Linked DNA regions of Homo sapiens: region 2 is linked to region 1. Evidence: promoter capture Hi-C in 16 types of primary human blood cells and fetal thymus (Javierre and others, 2016). All regions are on one chromosome and are shown on one strand. The core of a region is centred on a gene start or on the middle of the fragment in contact, and the rest is flanking DNA. Distances in the headings are between cores, read along the strand shown.

Region 1 (3,695 bases), core at 462-2,961:
GGGTTGATGCAGCAGTGGGTGGTGGCGATGAGTTTAGTGATGTGAACACTTTTGTCCAGATTGTAGCTGCTCTTGCAGTCACTCAGGGAGAAGTGTTCTTTGAAAGTGGACAGGAAAAATGCAATATTGTAGGGCGCCCACATCAGAAGGAAGACTACCATTATGGCAAAAACAAGCTTGAAAAGGCTATACCTCTGCTCCCTGAACCTTAGTGTTTTTCTCATTTGCACATAGAGAAATGTAAAAATAAATAGGGGGAGGACAAGAACCGAAATGTTCATTTTTAAAGTCAGAAAATGCTTCCAGAATGTCTCATCAGCTGGCAGGAAGGGAGTTCTGCTAAATGCACACTTGTATTTCTGGTCTTCCATCTGAGGTTTATAAACCACGAATTCAGGCAAAGTGGCCAGAATGGCTGTTACCCATGCCAGGACACTTGTAATGATGCCACAGGGCACCCTCCTCCTGGCTGAGAAAAAGTTTCCCTTGTGCAAAAACACTAGGTACCTTTGCACAGTCAGAAGGCAATTGAAAAATGTCTCACTGTACAGGCCCACGAAGTACAGTCCAATGAGAATTTTACACATGGGATCGCCCCCAGCATGAGCCCAGAAGGGCAGGGTAAGCAAGAAACACAAGTTAGAAACTGCCAAGTTTAGAAGATAGATATTTTCCACGCGTTTGAGTCCTTTATATTTTACCAGGATAAGCACAACCAGGAGATTGTCCAGGACACCGATCACAAACACAGCAGAGCAGAGTGATGGCACCAGCTGGGCTGAGAGTGCCTGGGCGTCATACTTGTCACATTGCTCTGCCTCATCGCTCTCCAGTTCACCTTCTATGAGGACATCATATTCATCCTCTGGTGCCAGCGTGTAATTGGCCATCTTCAGACTGCCCTGTGGAGAAATGGGAGATGATTTTCCCCTCCGACAGCTGCCTTATCCTGGAGGAAACAACAAACTGGACCTGGATTCATACAGCCCCACTTTCCCTTTCTGGAGCTACATTTTAGCCAGAGTAATTCCCTATTTCAGAAGACTGAAATAAACATTTCTTTAACGTGTGCCCACTTCCCCAGAGCAGCACCATTCCCAATCTAGTTGTTAAGCATGTAAGTGCTTAGCAGTGTGCCAGGTGCCACGGGAAATAAAGCTGGCATGACACCGCCTTGGTAGAACTTACCTTCTTTTAGCAGAAACAGGACTTGCCTACATGAACACAATATGTAAGAAAATATATAATTAAAGAGAACCAAGTACGATGGCTTACTTTTAAGAAACGGGTGTAGATCATAATTTCTGCATTTTAAAAAGTTTGCTCACCCCCCGAAGCAGCTTCCTGTGACAGCTGAGACGTTTTTCTCTCGAAGGGTATAAATAAATGTTTGCAAAAGTGAAACCATGCTCAGCATCAACATGGCCATAAGGGGTTAAATACATAGATGACACACAGATGACTTACCACTGGGCTGAGCTCCTGCAGGGGAAGGGCGCAGCCTCCAGACCCAGCATCCGGGAGCTGTGGGAATGGCCCCGGACAGTGGATGCCCTCCTTTTGATCAGACTGCTCCTGACCCTGAGGGGCACGAGAAACCACTGTTGATTCCCCTGGTGGCTCTACCCGCCCCACTCACCGAGCTCAGGGACCAACTGAAATAAAGTACTCAAAAGCTCCCCCAGGCCTCCAGAGGATCTCTGAAGCGTCTGAAAGCAACCGGGAAGTTGTTTCCTCCTCCCTCTGGCCCTGTACCCCGCCTTTGATTTCCCTGTGACCTTTGACAGCCGTCTTCTGGCCTTCTGAGATAAGGGAACTGTGTCACTGCCGCTCTGAGTGGTAGCAAGGAAGTGATGTCAAGGTGCTGAGAACTGCCAAGACGCTCTGGCTTGTGGCATGTGACACTCTGAGTAGGTAACAGGTACCAGCTACTGTCAGCAGGGAGGAAGGTATGTGGTGACCACGAGTCCAGACCTGAGGGTCCTGACCCTCTAATGCGGCCTCTCACCAGTGTTCGCAGAAACCCACCCGCTGATTCAATACGGGGACCAGGAACCTGCCATGACAGTCACGGTGTGTTTGGGTTTTTATTGTCATTTTTGAGGGGCACTGTGTGCTTTGGTTAAGACTGAGGCCTCAAAAGAGAATTTTAGGAAAATGGAAGCCACAGGGTGATGTCAGCTGGGAAAAGGCCAGGGGCAGAGGTGGGGTCTCAGCGGCAGTGAGCATAGGGCTGCCCTGGGTGTCAACACTGAGGAAAGCAAAGGGGTTTGCAAGCAGCCAGAAGTGATTGGTGCTGTGACTCATGGGGGAGCTGACCCCACTCGGAAAAGGAGAACCCAGAGGAGGAAAATCCCGTGGTGATGACACAGAGGCGACATCAAGTTGGGTGGGAGAGAATGTGAGGAGGACAAGTTTAACCCCAAACTGAGGCTGGGGGCTAGGGTAGGTTTGAGTCCAGAGAGAAGGAAATTGAGAGAACAGCCCAGATTTGGAATGGTGGGAGGAGGCTGTGGGGAGGGGAGGCTGTGGGAAGAGAGTGGGACGGGGAGGGCACGGTCTGGAAGAAGGACGAACCGAGAAGAGGAACTTGAAAATAATGAAAAAATCTAGATGAGCTTCTCTTGGGTCAACGACTCAGCAGCTGTGACTAACCTAATTTGGGGATCAGACCTATTTGCTTAGAATTTATATATTGATTAAATGACATCCTTTTCCCACCAAAGATGTGTCTGAGGTAGGATTGAATACAAAATTTGTACCTGTCAAAATAGAAATAGAAAATTAAGAAACTAGCCTGGCACTGAGGCGCATTCCTACAGCCCCAGCTACTCAGAAGTATGAGGTGGGAGGGTCGCTTGAGCCCAGGAGTTTGAGGCCAGCCTGGGCAACATAGTGAGATCCCGGATCTATAAACAATATAAAAATTAGCCAGATGCAGTGGCAAGTGCCTGTAATCCCAGACATTCCAGAGGCCAAGGTGGGATGTTCACGTGAGCCCAGGAGTTGGAGGCTGCGGTGAGCCATGATCATGCCACTCTGCACTCTGGCCTGGGTGGCAGAGCGAGACACTGTCTCTGGAAAAAAAAAAGAAGAAGGAGGAGGAGGGGCGGGGAGAGGAAGGGAGGAGAGAGAACTATTAAGAGAAAAATAAACACAGAAAGAGCCCAGACAAATATGTGATTGAGCATTAAATTTAACTCCACGTGTGCCGACAGACAAGGCAGAAAGAGAAACACAATGATGTTTGATGGCAGAGGAGTTGGTGCTGGTGGGAACCTAAGCTGTAAGTGCCCTCTCCTCTCTTGTGTGGGTCTCCTGTGAGTGAGTGAGTGGGGGTCATGGTGCCCTGGGACACTCTTCCCACCCCCTACAGCCTGGGATCAGCAGTGGCCCCTCCTCCTGGGTCTCTCCACCTCCTGCAGCTGGGCAGGACACTCAGGATCTTGAATGAGTAGGTGCGGGCAGCTTTACTCTCGATACTCATGGATCAGTTCCAGGAAAAGGAAGGAAAGTCAAGTCAGACTTTGAAACTTGCAAAACGCTGGGAGTACGCACACTCTTCCTCATTAGTAGAGGACAAAAACAGCAGTCAGGCACCTCATGTACCGCATGTCACAGAGTCATGTGAGATGTGAAATTTCCCAAGTAAAAACACAGAATCATGTGAGGTGTGAAATTTCCCAAAGAAAAAT
Region 2 (3,695 bases), core at 672-3,171, 280 kb after region 1:
TGCCAACAATGGGGCCCCTTTCCTTAACCTTGAATTCAAAGTCCAGCTCCACTTTTCCCAGTTCATGACTTTGGGCAACCACTTCACCTCCTCTCAGCCCTGGTTTCCTCTTTGGAAAGTGGGTGTGGGCCACAGTATTGACCATTGAGGATGGAGAGCTGAAGGGAGGGTTCACAGGGAGAATGCACAGGGTGCATGGCACACAGAAAGCAGCCAACACAGGCGAACCTAATTATGACAGTGGAAAAAGGAACGGGGTGGTTTCAGAAGACCTACTCTCGATCCAGCTTCACTTCCAGCTCTGTGACCTGAGCAGGTCATCTTCCCTCTCTGGGCTCAGTTTATCCATTGACAACATGAAGTCACTGGACTAAGTGGCCCCTATGGCTCTTTCCAGCACTGACATCTCTGAGTCCCTGGGCCAAGGTCTAGGAAGCTATAGATGCAGGGACAGCCATCAGAGGTGTCCTGAGTCTTTGTGGGCTGAATAAAGAGGTTCAGGCTCTGTCAGCCAAGCCTGAAGTAGCCACTCCCTGACCTGGTCAATTAGGAGACAGATATATATATAATCTCTGCTTCATTCACTTGACTAATTTAGGGTATATTTTGATGCTCAATCAATACTTTTTTTTAAACCACCCTAAAACTTAGTGGTTTAAAATAACAAAGCCATTCATTATGATTCTGTGGATTGACCGAGTGGTTCTTTGTATGGTCTTGGCTGGTGCTGCAGGGCTGGCAGGTGCAGATTGGCCCCCCTCACAGAGCTGGCCAGGTGGTTCTGTGTCTACCAGGAGCTCTGCTGAGGCTGTTGGTCAGGACCTCAGCCCTCCACCACCTGGCCTCTCTAAACTGGGCTTCTTATAGTAGGGGCACTGGGATCCAGAGGGAGGAACCAAGAGTGAATGTCCCTGGAGGAAGAAAACAGAAGCTGCCAGGCCGTAAGACCTGGGCTCGGAAGTCCGAGCATATCACTTCCACATTTGGTCAAAGCAGGCACAGGGCAAATCCAGACATGAGGGGAGGGGACATACATTCCCCCCCTTGACACATACAGGAAAGGACATCGGACCTGATGGTGACCACATTTGGAGATTATCTACCACTGGGTACAAACACATCTTTTTTAAAATTTCATCAGTTAATAGTTCCAGAAAAATGGTGCCCAGTGCCTCCCTCCTGAAGCCTCCTTTTCAAATAACAGAAGAACACTGAGGGCTTGAAAAGCTTTTGTCCTTCTTCCAAACATAAGCTAGGAGAGAATGGAAGGGGCTATTCTGGTCACCACTACTCTGTTCTAGAGACATCACATTGTCAGTGTTGAAGCCTTGACTGGTGCAGCCCCAGGGACAATTGCTTGCTGATGAGGCAAGGCCCTCGCTGCTCTGGCTCGCTTCAGACTACTGTCGAGGTGCCACCCACCAGCCTCCACCTGGAGGTCCTTCAGCTCACACATGCTCCAAGCCTGGAGCTCCATCGTTCCCAGGGCGTGGCCCCATGCCATAGTCGCTGGGCCAGGAGGCTGCTGGTCTTGGCTGTGCTATTCCATAATCTCCCTGCATACACACAGCAAAGCCCAGGCTCTTGCATTTAGCTCAGACTGCCTTTGCCCTGGTGAATTTACCTTTGCCCTTGGCCTACTAGTCCTTTCCTCTCACCGTAAGCCACCCTGCCAGATTTGCTCGACTCAATATCTGCAGTCCCTCCCCTAACAAGGCTTCTGGCTCCTGATGTGAAAGGGTTTCCCTTCTACTAAAGTTCTGTGTGCTGAGGGCTCCCAGGACAAGCAGCTTTCATCAGGCCACACACTGCCCTTGTGTCCTGCACCCTCCCTGAGAGCAATGAGATCCTCCTTGCTGCCATACGCTATACGCTTGCAGAACAAAAAGGGGGAAACACAAGGAAAATTGTTCCAGGGGATCGTCCTTCTGGAAGCCTCCAATTAATTAGGCCAAAAATTAATATATAAAGTAAACACCATTAAAATGATAGTGCAAATAAAACCACATGCTAGTCAGTAATTATCAATATTGGCAGAATAGATTTAAGTTGATCTTCCACAGAGAATGATTTTTAAAGAAAACAAAAAACCCAGTATTGGTTCAGTTGCTCTATTCACAAAGTTGGCTATATTCTCACCTTGAGTTTATGTTCCAGCCCAAGCAGAATCCAACCCTAAGCCTTTTCTTTGTAAGTTTCAAATTTGATATAACTTCAAATTTTATGCAGATGTTTCAAGAATAGTTCAAAGAACTCTGTCCAAAGATCATCTTATCCAGATGCACCAATGTTAATATTTTGCCCCCATTTGTGTTATTCTCCTCCCCTCACTTCTCTTCATATCTAATTTATATATTATTTTCCTGAACTGCTTGAGAGTAAGTTACAGACACCATGCCCTTAAAAACTTCCCAAAAATGCCCCATGTGTATTTTCTAAAAGTAAGGACATTCTCTTACATAGCCACAGAACAAGGATCAAAATCAGGAAATTTAACATTCATCTCATGCTGTTGTCTGGTCCATCTTCCATGTCTACATTTCGCCAATTGCCCTTAAATAGTCCCTGGTGAGCTGTCTTCCCATAACCCAGATCCAATCTGGGATCAAGCTTTGCATCAGTCACCTTTCATCTAGAAGGGCCTCAGGCTTTCTGAGTTTGGCTCACTCTTAGGCAGGCACCACGGGGCTCGGAGTCCTTCGCTTTTCTGCAGCCGCACCTGCTGCCTGCCCCAGTTAGAGCCTATCCACCTTCTTGGTCCCCTAAACCTCCCTGGATCATGCAGTTCTCCTTCATGCTGAACATGGAGTGAGTGTTCTCTGTTGTTTTCTTGTGACTTCTTTCCAGTCAGGAAAATGTGATTCTGGTAACTCCATGCTTGTTCCCTTTTCACACTAACCACAGTTCCCTTTTTACAGTAATCACATTTTGGTGTAAAAACAATGTCATGATAAAGGAAACTTCCTGAAAAGGAATGAGAACATAATCCTCCTCTAAGAACCTGTTCATTTTTACTTGTGCCGGCCTAGTAATACATTTTATACTGCAGTCATTGTGCTCATTTTTTTCATCTGCCCTTTCACGTTTTCTAAAATGCAAATTGTTCCCTGTCACTCCCCTCCTATGACACTCAGGCCAAACTGCAGACACGACCTAGTGAGGGCCCTGCCTACCCTCATCCCCTGACATATGGTCCTGGTGCTCCCCACGCCAAGCCACGCAGAGGCTCCTGAATACACCAGACTCTTTCTCAGTTGTATCCTTCCACCCCACTCTTGCGTCTGCTCCATCAGGCCCAACTAGTGAAGTTCGCACAAAGTGCCTAAGCATCACCTCCCTCCTGTGCCTGACCTCACCACTCCAGCCAGGGCCACTCCCTCACTGCTTGGTCCAACAGCGGTTATCAGAGTATCATTCTGTTTTGCAGATGGGCTTATGTGCCCGCCTCTCCCAGTGACTGTGTGTTTCCTGTGGGCAGCACCTATATCTTTTATTTCAATGTCCCTAGCACCAGGCACAGTGCACAGAGGTACCAAAAAACTCTGCAAGTGAACATTGTTGCTGTAAGGCCAGCATCCTTCTTTCACCCTGTGTTCCCTTCTAAGCTGTGCATGCAAACACCCATCTCTTTTGAGCATCATGAGAGCTGCCTGGGCCAGCCTTCTCACTCATCATCCCCACCACTCCTCACCCCC

Evidence for each region. Contacts are between HindIII fragments. The CHiCAGO score rates a contact against its expected background, and 5 or more counts as called.
Region 2: a contact is called between a fragment that was not itself captured here and the fragment with the promoter of CCRL2 in region 1, in 3 of 17 cell types (M0 macrophages, M1 macrophages and M2 macrophages). The highest score is 9.6, in M0 macrophages.

The regions. Positions count from the first base shown.
Region 1 is chr3:46,405,275-46,408,969 of GRCh38, reverse strand. CCRL2 (C-C motif chemokine receptor like 2) reads right to left here and starts at 1,711. Exons shown (of 2, transcript NM_003965.5): 1 at 1,468-1,711; 2 at 1-902. The coding sequence starts at 890. It overlaps CCR5AS (CCR5 antisense RNA), which reads left to right and starts at 1,904. Exons shown (of 4, transcript NR_125406.2): 1 at 1,904-2,073. The HindIII fragment of the contact is 3,797 bases long and covers 179-3,695 here.
Region 2 is chr3:46,130,025-46,133,719 of GRCh38, reverse strand. No RefSeq gene overlaps it. Among named protein-coding and RNA genes, the nearest start is that of CCR1, 76 kb to the left of the region's middle. The HindIII fragment of the contact is 1,383 bases long and covers 1,230-2,612 here.